Linked DNA regions of Homo sapiens: region 1 is linked to region 2. The links are contacts of gene promoters, found by promoter capture Hi-C in blood cells and fetal thymus (Javierre and others, 2016). All regions are on one chromosome and are shown on one strand. Each heading gives the region's core, a stretch centred on a gene start or on the middle of the fragment in contact. The rest is flanking DNA. Distances are from core to core; before and after follow the strand shown.

Evidence for each region. Contacts are between HindIII fragments. The CHiCAGO score rates a contact against its expected background, and 5 or more counts as called.
Region 1: a fragment that was not itself captured here is called in contact with the fragment with the promoter of ZNF692 in region 2 in 7 of 17 cell types (neutrophils, total CD4 T cells, naive CD8 T cells and 4 more); the score reaches 12.6 in neutrophils.

The regions. Positions count from the first base shown.
Region 1 is chr1:248,398,358-248,405,518 of GRCh38, forward strand. It overlaps OR2T1 (olfactory receptor family 2 subfamily T member 1), which reads left to right and starts at 4,691. Exons shown (of 2, transcript NM_030904.2): 1 at 4,691-4,888. RefSeq lists a silencer at 1,897-2,097. The HindIII fragment of the contact is 1,708 bases long and covers 4,735-6,442 here.
Region 2 is chr1:248,857,835-248,865,256 of GRCh38, forward strand. ZNF692 (zinc finger protein 692) reads right to left here and starts at 1,251. Exons shown (of 12, transcript NM_017865.4): 1 at 1,084-1,251; 2 at 297-487; 3 at 1-25. The coding sequence starts at 475. ZNF692-DT (ZNF692 divergent transcript) reads left to right here and starts at 1,330. Exons shown (of 3, transcript NR_186117.1): 1 at 1,330-1,412; 2 at 4,795-4,953; 3 at 6,743-6,962. RefSeq lists enhancers at 56-135, 736-785, 1,586-1,735, 5,067-5,326, 5,797-5,936 and a silencer at 946-1,445. The HindIII fragment of the contact is 15,686 bases long and covers 1-6,267 here.

The DNA of each region.
Region 1 (7,161 bases), core at 4,339-6,838, 460 kb before region 2:
TAAATAAATAAATAAAATGATTTTTTCAAAAGAAGTTAAATAAATGAATAGTAAAAATATAAAAGTTGGCCGAGTGCAGTGGTGCATGCCTGTAATTCCCACACTTTGGGAGGCCAAGGCATATGGATCACCTGAGGTCAGGAGCTCGAGGCCAGCCTGTCCAACATGGTGAAACCCCATCACTACTGAAAATACAAGATTAGCCAGGCGTGGTGGTGTATGCCTGTAGTCCCAGCTACTCGGGAGGCTGAGACAGGAAAATCACTTGAACCCTGGAGGTGGAGGCTGCAGTGAGCCAAGATCATGCCACTGCACTCCAGCCTGGGCAAGACAGAGTGAGACTCTTGTCTCAAAAAAAAAAAAAAAAAAAGTTGAAGTTAAAAAAATTAATTAACCTTTCTAGGAAAAACAACAGAAAACATTAAATCTAGTCCTTTTACATCAGAATTTCCAGATCTGTGTGTTTGTGTTTATTTATTTATAGATAGATGAAATGATTGATATATAGATGTGAATTGATAATATAAAAAATGATAATATTTTTGAGGTGCAACTTAACAAAATCAAAACTTTAAAAATATTCACACAAATGAATTAAATAATATTGACTGAGGAAAAGTCGATGAAGAAAACTTCCAAAATCTATACTCAAATTAGACATAAGGATTTAATCAGCACATTATTTTTTAGTCCCCTGAATTAAAACTGTATGTATGTTATAAAAATGGAGCATTAATTAAATAATATTGAGCATATCCATAAAGTATAGTACTTTGTGGATAGTGCATGCTACGTTTGGGAGAATATTTCACATCGGGGCACTTTTTATGTTGTATTTTGTGAACAATGCAAATTGTGGAATTACATGTTAACCCACAGACACTCATCACACACACATATATGTTGTTGTGTAAATGCCATATCTATTTATAGTGTTTAAGTTTCTGCATGTGTCTCTCTGTTGGTTCTCTACCTCTTGTTTAGTTACATAAAGCTCTTGTAGTTTACTGGTACATACACACACATACCCACGAACATACACACAAACAAACACATACAGTATAAATGCAATTTTGTAAGGATAATCATCTCTATGATGTGTTTTCGATAACCCTATCTGGTATTATGTTTTTCCCGATGGGTATGCGTTACCTTTATGCTCAAATAAAATAATAATTATTAAACTACCAACAAACATAACAGATGTTATGTTATTAAAATATAATAGAAATAAAGCTACTTTTTATCTTTTTAATGGCTTTCCACATTTGTTCCCACATTTCTCTGTGAGGAAGAGCTGCTGGCAGAACTTTCTGATGAAACACTCAGGAAATCAGTTTTACACTTTGAAGCACAGGAGTTGAAACATGTTCTCAAAGCCCATGTCACTTAAATGTTCACTGTTTTCCACCCCATCAATACACTTCTCATTAGCTGTAATAAGTCCGTCTCATTAAAGTCTCCTGAGATCCAAAAGGAAGAAACTTGCTCTTTCCCAGAGCACTTCATTCCATGTCCCTCAAAGAAAACTATTTAAACTCATGCCTCTTTTCAATCTGGGCGCTCCCTTGTCGCTCCAGGGATCTCAAAAGCAGAACACCCAGAATAATTCGGCACTCTTTACTGGTCTGCTGCTTTCTTCCTGCATTTTTAGTTTTTCAGACCTGTTTAGTTGCTAAATATTTCCCTGTAAAGATAAGAAATAGACATTATTACATGTTTCTAGAAGGCTGGAGAATTTATGCAATTTGTCCTGGCAATGCAAATTGTTTCAAGGATTTCTAAGGTGGCATTTATTTGTTTGGCTTAATAATACTTCCTTCTGCAGAGTTATATTACAAAAATAGCTCCTAATAAACTTGTTGCATGTCTCTCTTTGTCCTAACTCCATCATCAGTTGCTAAGGATACCTTCAGTCATGCCAAGTTCATAAATCCAAATTAGAAATCTATGCATACTGGATCTTCAGGGTAACATGCTGACAGCACTTTGGCATCCAGATGGCCTAGATGTTGAAGGATTTCCTGTTGTGGGTACCAATGACTATGAATTGCTTTGTGTGTTTTCTTCTTGGTATAAGTTAGATGAGAATTTAAGTCTACTAAATCTAATCATTTTTCCTTCTAGCAAAATATCACCTTCAACCTTCTAAAAAGTCTTAGTTCTTCATCGCTTGTTTAGTTACATAAAGTTGTTGTAGTTTGCCAGTAAGTTTTTGATTTACTAAATTATACATAACCTTCTCTATCTACTACTCTGAATGGCTATCCTGACAGATTCAGCTCTCTGTAAGTGACAGATAATCATCTTTTGTTGGAATACAGTTTGGAATAAAATTAGATATTTGGATAATTTTTATGAAAATTATGTATATTGTATTCCTTGATGTCTACTTAGTGATGTGTGTCACATGCTGTTTTGAGTGGGTGGCATTCAGATTGCATGGATGAGAGGAGATATGAGAAATGTGAGAACATATAGAACACATGAATACATTACTTTATGAAGCTCTTTGAAAATTAAATAATTGGATTTAATAGTTAAGGTTTTGTCTAAATGATGCAACATCCCTCAGTAAAATTAGGCAATTAAAATGGATCATCTAGGAGCTTCTGCTGTACTTAGACTCACTTTGTTTGTTCCACTCTTCCTATTCCCTTAATGAAAATCCAGGTCTTTTGGAATTATGCAGGAATTTCACAGGTAAGAAGTCAAATGCTGATGAGCACCTAGACTGACTCCTCCTCATAGTAGCACTTTAAATATTTGGTGCATATGCAAATGACCGGGTTGCCAGAACATTTCATTGTGGTCTGACTGAATTTACGTTCTTTATATGACATAAACAAGATTTACGTAAACTGGATCTAAGAAAGTTGAGGCAGAGTTGTCTGCAACTCCTGGGCTGGAAATCTCAGGCACAAGTATAATGAGGAATGACTGTCCCATTCCCTCCATGCCAAATGCAAGTGCATTGAGAAAAAGAGTGCCTGTCTGATTATCTGTGGGAATTACATGGAGTGAGTGTTGTAAATCTCAGGTAGAAGGATGCCATTGAGTGTAACAGTGCAAAGAATCTTTTCTTAAATGTTTGCTGCTTTTCTTAAAAAAATAATTTAAGCAAACTTTAGTCTTATGAATTAGATAGGATAAGGACAATACTGTTCGAAAGGCACAAAAGATCTAAAGGAAAAACCTGTACTTACTCCTAGTTTCTAAAGTACAGACTATGAACCAGGCTTCCTGAATCTCTGAACAGTGCATTGTCTTTATCTCCTTCCCCTCGTTTTACAGATAAGAACACTGATGATTGGAGAGTTGAAGATGCTTGCATTAAAGACACAGAGCTGACGTAAGGCAGACTCCTACAGGCATTCTAATTTCCAACATAGACTCGTTGCCTGACTGTCAAACGTGCAAGCATTTTAAAAATCCTTTTTTCCACAATGATTTCAAAGAATGTGCAGACACCTGGATTTCTCAGATCCACTTTGCCAGTGATTCACAGGCATTTTTTTAGTGTCCATCACACCAAGCATAAAATAAACTCTCATCAGAAATAACAGGTCTCTCTAGTAGAGGGGTTTATTCTAGTGTGTAGTCTCTTTATGGGTCTTGTAGGAGGTGTGTGTGGGTTGAAGAATGTGGTTCTAAGTTACTCTAAAATTGTCAGAGTACATTAGTGCTTTATTATCTAATAATTGTATGATTATTATTTCAATATGAGTTCATTCTTAATGATTCCAACTTTTTGAAATACTAAACAGAATTTAGGAACACGGAGAAAAACTAGGAACATATATTTTTGTATTTAGTCTCAAAATTGCACAGCACTGTATTGACCTGTCTTGAGAACTTCTCATGTGAAAAGGTAACTGTAAGTTTGAATGTGTATGTAATGACTCAATGTGTCTGCGATAACAACAGAAAAGTAATATTGCCAGTGTATTCTGTACAGGAAAAACCACACCTACAGTAATCTGTTGAAATTGAGGTATTATATTCTAAAATAGACATTGCAAAAGCTATCCCCAGTAAATACCTGGAAGTTGAGCACTTTGGAAAAAAATTCATACATGAATGCATAAAATAACTGGAGAAGTGTGACCGGTATAGAGAAGGAGGACAGAAAACCTTGTAGTCATATTCACATTATGAAATGTTGAATGTTGCAAAGAGAGAAAACTGGTTCCAAGCAGATTCAGAAGGCAAGGAAGAATCCTGCATGAAGCAGCTTTAATTTAAGCTAATGCAGAGCTTCCTAACAAGGCTGCTGCATTGAAGGAGCATGGAGCTTGCTCTTTTCTTTGGCAGAAACTTCACCAGTGGTCATAGGGAAGCAAGCAAAGGCTGCAACTTACAAGTTAGGAATTATCTTGTCACTTGATTTAAAGGATGGGCTTGGAGATCATCACAGTCCTGGGCAAGCATTGTGTCCTACCTTCAAACTGTAGTGATGTGGGAGGAAAATATTTGCGGCCATCCCTACTCAACCAACATGCACGCCTTATAAAATAGTACAGAATATTTACAAATGTCAGGATAACATAAATGCATTGATTTATCTCTTGGTGTACGGTATTATGCAATAAAAAATAGTTTAGGTAGGCCTAAAAGACAATTTTATCCAATAAAATTATGTCTATTTTATCCACTAACTTTTTAAAAATAATTTTCTCAAAATTTGCAGGCCAAGCATACTTCTGCTCTTCAAAGGCATTTAGATGTTCTGCAAGCTTAATTGAAATGCACAGTTTTTTCTGAGAATTTCTACTAAGTAACAATCCTTTCAAGTCAAAGGATACTTGGGGGAAAAGATAGACTTTAACTGCTGATGTAACTTCACTGGGAGCACCTGGGTTTACAGACCTTTTCTGAAGATCAGGAGGTATTTGCAATTTAAATTCATAGATTTTAGTTGAATATGTAGATTGCTTAAATGAGAGATTGAGAATTTGCACCCATTTACCAATAGTTTTGAAATAATTTGCAGATATCTTACATTTTACTTGGTATTGTATAAAATATTTGCACCTGTAACTATAAATTTCTTATTTGATTCTTAAAGTAACCCTGAATGTTTATTATATCAATTAATATAAGCAGATACTGAGGCTCAGGGTGTTTAGGAAGATAATCCAAGGTCACAGAATTAATTAATGTCGTGACCAGAGGAAGAACTCAATTCATTTAATTCTAAATTTTGTTTTACTGTATGTTGCCTTCATCATTTCAGAAACAAATGCCTATATAAAGTCACAGAATCATTCCAAACATTTTCTGATTATTTTTATGTGTACTAAACCATAGCAAAGCTGTATGATCTATGCCCAGGAGATATTCAACAAGTATAGTTACTTATTGTGCTCACTCTAGTGAGAGAGCAGATAATAAATTTAACAAAACATTTTACTTAAAATCATAATTTACTTTGAGGAGGGCTTGTTCTCTGATAAATTAGATCTTTTGTATGCAGATAGGAAAAGTAAGGCCACTTGGCTGCAAAATGGAGTAGACTTTAGAATTTCCCTTTGCATTGCTAGGTTTGCAGGGCTAGCTGGCCATAGAAAAAGCTAGAACCACAGAAGAGTTACATATATACATATATAAATCTATGGGAGGAAATTATGAATGTATATACTTATATATATATATATAATGGATAAAAGATCATCCTTTATATTCTTGAAGTTTGTTGTGGATTTTACTGTAACCTGAAATTGTATAAAACAGTCCCTCAGTTTTTCTTAATTGCCAGAGCTACGGAAAAATTCCAATTTCCAAAAATCATCGGTGAGTTATACCTCAATATGTATGTCCCTGTGCTATTACATATACGTGTGTGTGTGTGTGTATAAAATGGGAGTAAGGGTGAACAGACAGCAGAGACCACTGTTTGACTTTGTGAAGCAGCACATGATTTTCCCTCTGTTTCTGGTGTCTTATCGCATGATAAAAGTCAAACCGAAAATGTAGGAAGTGTGGAAGTAGCTGAAATACTGCTAATATTTAGGCTGCGACATAAACTGGAGAGGAGTTTCCCTTTAGAAATATATTTTTATAGGTTCCATTAATGAAACCTAAAAAAAGTAAAATGAGGGAGGTTGTAAGTAATGATGACATTGTACATAGTATCATAAAAATGTATAAAACCTGACACCAAATATTCTGAATTAGCAAAATATACATTATATATATATATAAAATATACATATGATGTATCTATGTGTACATTTTTATATATGTGTGTATATCTGTACACATAGTTTATATCCATAAAACAGCAATCCTGATTATAATAATTTATGTGATCTACTCTCAAGTATGACTAATTTTCATTAGTCACATTAGTTATTACATTGTTAACAATTTAGCAGGTTCACATGCTTGGTACATTTTATTTGCTAATTACAGTAAATGTCTAGCTGCTATTCCCATATAAAGCTTCCTATATACACAATGCCATGTGTATGAATATATAATGAATTGAGACTATCTAGTCCAAACACTCCTGGCACTAACAGACCCCGTGACCACCAACACGTTACCCTCAATGCTGTCATTGGTGAGAGGGGCTTTTATAGCTCCTCACTTCTTAGTTTTATTGTGAAGATCAGGGAGTCAATAGTTACAAAGTACTTCTTAGCATGACACTTTGCAAAATAAACTCCACGATGTCATCATCATTATTCTCAATAGCAACTTCTTTTTCTGGGCAATTGACTCAAATGCTAATATTTTTAGAATATTTAGAGGAGCACTAGACTAGTTTGATCAATTTTACTCCCAAATATGTTGGTAAAATGTCTTTCTTGGGACACTTTTAGCCTTAAACAATGTGAAAAATCATCCTTTACTTCCATGAAGTTTGTTGTGGATATTTGTTTCTTTATTGTAACCTGAAATTGTATAAAACACACTCAGTTTTTCTTAATTATGAAGAACTATGAAAAATTCTAATTTCCAAAAATAATCAGTGAATTATAGCTCAATGTTTACGTCCCTGTGGTATTTCCTCTGAATATTAATTGCTAATACTGATTTCTAATGGTCATGCTAATCATAATCCTAATGCTAATTCCTCATCATCTTAAAATTGAAAATAAATAAAATTCTACAACACTGAATGCCTCTTGTATTGAGAATAATTTTTATGTCTAA
Region 2 (7,422 bases), core at 1-2,500:
GAGGACACAGCCTGAAGAAGTGTACCTGCCAGCAGGAGAAGAGGCAGGTCAGGACTCAGGTGGCCAGCCACCCTCAGCCCTGGGCACTCACACATGTAAGGGGCCAGCCCTAAGGGCCGCTATTCGCTGAGACCATGAGGAGGGGAGCAGGACCCTCGGAGGCCACAAGTCACACAGGCCGTCCTGGTAAAGTGAGAAACCTGAGGGTGGAAAAGAGCAGCAGGACAGGCCCTGGAGAGGAGGCTAGGGGCTGCTGCCTGGGTACCCTCCCCCAAGCCCTTCTCCCGGCCCCTAACCGGTCCAACAGGAACTTGGCGAGCTGCGAGTGCAGGGAGAAGCCCAGCCGCTCCTTGAGGAGGCACCACTGCTCCATGTGGCCGCCCAGGCGGATGCGGCACTTGCTGCGGCGCGCGTCCAGCTGCCGCCGCTTCTCCCGCCGCCTGCAGGACACGTCCACCGCCGGGGAGGAAGCCATGTGCACCAGAGGCTGGAGGGTGGAAGGGACGTCTTCAGCGCCCTGCCGATCTCGGGGGTCGGGGACCCGGCTCCACCTGCCGTTAGGGCCTCAGTTTCCTCATCAGTGAACTGGGGCAAGACTAAACTATTTCAATAGCAGTGGCAGGTGTGGAGCCAAACCCCGTCCTTCTATGATACAGGGTGTTGAAGCTCAGCGCTACCATGTGAGTGTCGTCGGGTGGGAGGCAGGCAGACAGAAGCAGTCAGAACAAAGGCCTGCGCCCTCCAGTCCACTGAAGTGGAGCTGTGGGGAAGGGGCGAGAGACTTTCACGGGAAATTTCAACTGGGCTGGGGGCGGTCCACACATTTCATCTTGAATAGGGCAGCGGCCTTTACTGGTTTCTAGGGGAAGGAAAGGTCGTGTCCTGGCGTGCAGCTGGGGGCGCTCTTCATAGTTGGGTCGAGTGGCGGTGAGGCCGTGGTCAGAGGTCTGGAGGGCGCCCCCCATCCACCCCGTCTTGGGCACCCCCACTTAATGCTGACAGTGAGTGGAGCGGACTAATCCCAATGGCAGTTCCCAGGCTGCCCAGAGCCCCCGTCGCGACCCACCCCCACCCCGGCCTTACCTGTGCGCCCCCACGCGCCCTCACCCCCACTGCGCCTGCGCCTGCGCCTCCCGGGCCTAGCGAGCAGGCCCGGAGCTGCTGGAAGACAGGGGCCCACCTCGCGCGCGCAGCGTTTCTCTTTTAAGAAGAAACGGTGCCTCTCGGCGTCGGCTGCTGTAGCCCGGAACTGAGGCCCGCGCCCCAGAGGGAGGGGCGAGTCGGAGGCCGACGCCGTGCGCCTGCGCACTGGGTGCCCCGCGCAACGCCCGCCGGGAATCGTGGTTGCCCGACTCAAGTCGCCCGCGCGTGTCGCGGAGCCCCGCGGCAGTTGTGGTTGGGTGGCTTCTGTGGTGAGCGTCTGCGCTTGGTGACCAAAGGTTTGAGGGAAAGTGGAAGAGACAGGGTCAGGCCTCCTGTGCTCCAACCCCAGCCCACCCGGCCTGTATGGGGACGTTGCCTCTTCACTTGTTCCCGTTTTGTATTCACCTTCGATTTCCCCCTCACAGTTGCCACCCGCAAACATGATGCAGAATCAGTCACTTTGAAAGACCCACAGAGGGTCCAGCTAGAGCCCTCTGTGGACCGCAGAGTCCCACCAGCTACAGCCCACTTCTATTACCATCAGAATTCCTCCTAAAAGTTGCCTGCATTCTCTGTGTACGCTCACTTCCCATCCTCTTCTCTTCAAATGGCTCTGATGGAGCTTTCCTCCCCACCCAGCCACTGCAGTGGCGCTTCACAAGGTCACTTGAGACGGTCATATTGCTACATAGCAGCTGTCAGTTCCGTCCGCCTCTCTGCCCTAGAAAGAGCGCGACTATGTAGCTCTCGTCCTCCTCATCTTTATGGCTCCCTCTACATTTTGGGCCCCAGTTTTACTTCTGTGACTTCATATGCTCCAGGTTTTCCACCCTCCTCACTGGCTCCTTCTATCCTTTTTTTGGATCCATTCCCTCTGTTCTGCCAAAAGATGAAGTGTGCCCTGGCTCAGGCCTTGAACCAGATCTTCTCTCGTCTGCATATGTTCTCCTGGGTGATCTAATTAGTTCCATGGCTTTAAATACACTGATGGCTCCTAGCCTAGCCCTCTTTCAACTCCAGTCATATATCTTACTGCCCGCTTGACTTACATGTGTTAACTGAGCTAACACGTGTAAAGAATGTAGGACAGTGCCTGGCATGTAGAGAGCGCTGACACATGATAGCTGATATTTTCTCCAACATAAATATGGCAAACATATAACAATAACGCCTGTACCCTCCCCCATGCCAGTAAACTATGTCATCATCCACCCACTTGTTCAGAAAAAAGGGAATCAGCCTTGATTCTTTGCCTTTTATGATACCTAAACCATATACATCAGCAAATCTTGTTGGTCCTGTCTCCAAAAATTTATCTTAAATCCAATCACTTCTGACCCTCTCAACTGCTAAAACCCTACTCCAAGCCACTGGTATTAATTTTCTGTAATTGTTGTAACAAATTGTGTTGTGTGTTGTTTTCAGCCACAAACTTGCTCCCTTTACTCAAATTTATTTTCTCACAGTTCTGGAGGCCAAGGCATCAGCAGGGCCACAGGCCATTGTAAGGGCTCTAGGGGAGAATCCTTTCCTTGCTTCTTCTAGCTTCTAATGGTGGCCAGCATTCTCTGACTTGTGGCCACGTCACTCCAATCTCTGTCTCTGAGGTCACATTGCCTCCTTCTGTGTCAAATCTCCCTCTGCTTCTCTCTTACAAGGATGCTTGTGAATGCATTTAGAGTCCATCCTTATAATCCAAATAATCTCTCCATCTCAGTATCCTAAGACAATTTCTTCTGTAAAGTATTTGCCATATAAAGTAATCGGCTGCACACGGTGGCTCACGCCTGTAATCCCAGCACTTTGGGAGGCCAAGGCGGGTGGATCACTTGAGGTCAGGAGTTTGAGATGTGCCTGCCCAACATGGTGAAACCCTGTCTCTACTAAAAATACAAAAAAAATTAGCTGGGCATGGTGGCATGGGCCTATAATCCCAGCTACTCGGGAGGCTGAGGCAGAAGAATTGCTTGAACCCAGGAGGAGGAGGTTGCAGTGAACCGAAATTGCACCACTGCACACCAGCCCGAGTGACAGAGCAAGACTCCATCTAAAATAAAATAAAGTAATCTCCACAAGTTTTGGGGATTAGGACACAGATATCTTTTCTGGGACTATTTTTAAGCCTACCATACCACTATCATCTCTCACCTGGTCTGTGGCTACATCTTCCTAATGGATCTGCCTCCTACTTTAACTTGTACTCTCACAAAGCAGGGAAAATTTCCTCAAAGATCAAATCTTTTGCTTAAAATCTGTGAGTGGTGCAATCCAAAATCCTTATCATGGCCTCAAGGACCTACTTAATTGGGCCCTTGGCTTCTTCTCTGGCATCATCCCCCAACTTTTCCCACTTTGTCCTCCCACCTTTTTGCTATTTCTCAAGTGTGCCAAGTATCCTAGAGGGAGTTCTTTTGTCTCTGGAGCACTCAATTCTCCCCTCAGCCCCCACCCCATCCCCCAGCCCACCACCCAGCTGTTCATCTGTTTGCTCCCTTCTCATCTTGTAAATCTCGGCTATAAGATCACCCACTCAGCTATAAAATCCCTCATTCAGAAAGCTCCCTTTCCTCAGTCATGCTCTACCTCACTGTGCCCTATTGTATCTTCTTCATGGCACTTACTTTCTGAAATCATCTCAGGGACTTGTTTGTGTGTTTGTTATTGGTATACGATGATTGTTGACTAGCCCAGCCTTCTCCTCTGCAGCCTAAATATCTCAAATGACATGGTGTGCAAACATGAACACCCTTAGGATGAGCCCAGTGTGTCCTGTGCATATTCCTTTTGATTTGTGGTATCAGTGACTCAACATACTTGTCTGACTAGTGTAAGGTAGGAAGGAAGATGTCCCAGCTACTTTACTCATTAATGAATGTGTAACTTTTCCAGCTACTTTACTCATTAATGAAAGTGTAACTTTCACATCAAAAGAGCAGGACTCCATCGAGAACAAACTTTATCCTTTCCTCATGGTCCCTTAATAGATATCTGCAAAATCCTTGTGGTTTCATCCAAGGGAATGAAAGGTCTTGTAATTCTTGGTTACTCTTAGAATGTTGGGTCTCACTTTGAGACCCAAGAACATTTTTGGTTCTCTTGGTTTGATCTTGTTTAAAATAATAAAATGAAATTACTGCCAATGCCCAGCTCTTCAATAACCGTCTCCAAATAAATCTCTCAGCCTCTCTTTAATTTCTTATATCATCTAGGTAAGGAATGAGCCAACTCTCTCAAAAACAGTCACCAGCCCCTTCCTTTGTAAGTGCTGCAAGGGAGTGCTAACATTTTAAGGAGGGGTTCTCTGTAAACATTGGTTCTCTGCCTTTAGTGACCTCATTGCAGTCTGAGACCTTGAATTCCATCTTAGCATCCCATTACAAAGGCTAAGATTAAATGTGAGCTATTTGTATTTTTGTCACTGTTGAGCTTTACAGTTTACAGACTGCTGAAACTGCCAATTCTTTTATACACATAAAAGGGTCCATGTGGAGGACATATTTATCTTCATAACATTTATTTTTCCTGGACTATGCATGGCACCATAGCGCTCTTCTTATCTCCTGCTTTGGCACAGCCAAATCTAATATTGCTGTACCCTCTGAACTTTTAGTATCTTCTCTCCAAAGAGAAAAACTACTTTCCACTCTCCAGATCCAAGGAGGAATGAGCCAAATTGCTACAGAAGTTGAGTCAACCCACTGCCCTCAAATCCTGAGATGTATTCCCAGTGGGAAAAGGAACACTCCTTCAGGACTTTGTACCCCAAATTCCACGAGACCCACAGACACCCTCAGCCCAGCCCAGCTCCAGGTATTTGCATGAACCTCCCTCTTTCTCAGCCCTCATCCTCTCAGTGACTGGTGTCTTCATCCTCCAACTAGTCATCATTGCTGGGAGTGCAATTCCGTTTCCCCTGAGCCCCTGACAACTGAAGGGTGGTGCCTCTACCCTGAGTCTGATCATGCCCTAGTGCGGCTGACCTGGGCGCTCTGTGATGCCATGTGGCCCAGGTAGGGTGGGGTGGTATACAAGAGATGCGGTTGCCCTTGCTCCTGGCTGGCCCAGCTGCCTGGGTTGGTCCTGTTAGCTTTGGCTCCGGGCCGGAGGGCAGACGACATGAAGGAGGAGGAAGCCAGCCGCCAAGAGACTCGCCGTGGTAAATTCAGCGTCTGCAGGGGTGCTTGACGCGGCGGAGCCCGCGACGCCGGCAGCGGAGCGACATGTTGCTCCTGGTGCTGAAGCAGCAGCTGCCCACCCTCGCTGTGGTTGTGCTGATGGCAGCAGCAGCCCGTCTAGGGTGGCCACTGCCGTGATGCTGGCTGCAGCGCTCCATGAAGCGAGTGGAGCCAGGAACAGGCAGAAGCCCCGCCCCCTCCTGAGTTGATAGGGTGGGACCTTCGCGCTCACGGGTGCAGCCTCTGCCGCCCGGCTGTGGCTGCCGACCAAGGCCTCCCTGTGCTCTTGGGGGCCAGGAGCAGCCAGGAGCCCGCCCTCCCAGGCACAGCTACTGCGGCTCAAGCTGTGGCTGCAGACCCAGGCATCTCTTCACTCTCCAGGGGCTGGGAAGGACCCCGCTGCCCGCGGAGGCTCAGAAATGCCTGGTTCTGCTGCCTGGTCTCTCCCCGCTCCTGGTGCCTGCTCCACGGGCTCTGAAATGTCTGCTCCCAGTGCCTGGCTGCTCCCTGCTCCCAGTGCCCACTCTCATCTCAGAGCAAAGTTGAGGCCAAGGCCGGCGCTACTGCAACCCGGCCGGGTGTGCGCACACTCGGGCAGCGCTGACATGCCAGCCCCCTGCTGCCTCGGCCCCCTCTGGACTTTGGGCGCCAATGAGCACAGGAGGGAGGCCGAGGTGAGGGCTGAGGGCAGACCAGCACTGACCTGCAGGTGCCCCTCAGCATGAACAGCCTGGGTGCTATAATGTTGTTCCTTCTGTTTTACTTCTAACTGCCCCTTCCTCCTGCTCGCCTCTGACTCTCTCATTGCATAATTTTGCCCCCTCTTTCTCTCCTTCATCTTCTCCCCTTTTCCTTGCCTCATCTCATTTCCTCCTTCTGTACCTAAAAAGTTTGGCATTTGGGCTAAAAAATGAAACAACCATTTCTCTTCAGCCATCTTCCAGCATTAAGCTTCTAATACAGAAGAGTTGGTGAGCCACCAACAATTTGAAGACATTTCTTCTAGTTCTATTCCTGTTGCATTCCCCTCCTGTTTAGTCCACTCACCAGACTATTTTTGAGTTGTGCCCTAGCTCTCTCTCCATGCTTCCACCCACCAGGACCTGGTAGATCTTACCCTCCTCACACTGCTCATTCAGCTGGTTAGAAATGAAGCCTCCCACCAGTCAGAACTGGGAAACATGGTGGGAACTAAAGAATTCTCTGTCTCCCCTTTCCTCATTGTTAGTCTTCAGTTCACTCTCTCCAGGAGCACCTAAAACAGCTTGTGACTAAACATCCCATTTGGAGCCCTGAGCAGAGACTGTGATCCACTAGATTAGGGCCTTGGGCTTCAAGCCTATACTTATTTCTAGCCTTTGGCCTATATTTAGACTTTCTGGGTACTCATGCAGAGGCTAACCACACCATGCTTTTTCCCCTAGGACAGACCATAATGAAAGATGCTTTACCTTGAAAACTAAATGGACAGGACTTGATCACAAAGCATCACCTCTCCCCTGGACTCCAGAGGATCGTTCCTAACTGCTTACTTGACACATCTATTAGGTATCTCAAACTGGAAGGTCTAAAACTGAACTCTCCCTCCTCCATAATCTGCCTCCCCTTAGCCTTCCCTTTGTCAGTAAATGATGAGTTTTTTCCTTCTATTGCTCAGGTCAAAAAATCCTTTTTGTGGCTCATTTACTTCTTGCACATCAACAAATCCTATTAACTCTACCTGCAAAATATACCCAGAATTCAAATCTTGCTTGCCACGCGGCCTGTTGCCATCCAGTCCACCAACGTGGCTTGCAGCACCTCTCAACTGTTCTCTCTGCCTTACTCTTGTGTTCTATATTCTACCCTCCACACGCAGCCAGAGGATCCTTTTTGTTTTTCTTTCTTGAGACAGTATCTTGTTCCATCACTGAGGCTGGAATGCAGTGGCACGATCACAGCTCACTGCATCCTTGAAGTCCTAGCTCAAGCAATCCTCCCATCTCAACCCCCAAGTAGCTAAGACGACAGGTGCATGCCAACATGCCCAGCAAATTCTTTAAATCTTTTGTAGAGATGGTCTCCCACTATGTTGTCCAGGCTGGTCTCAAACTCCTGGCACAAG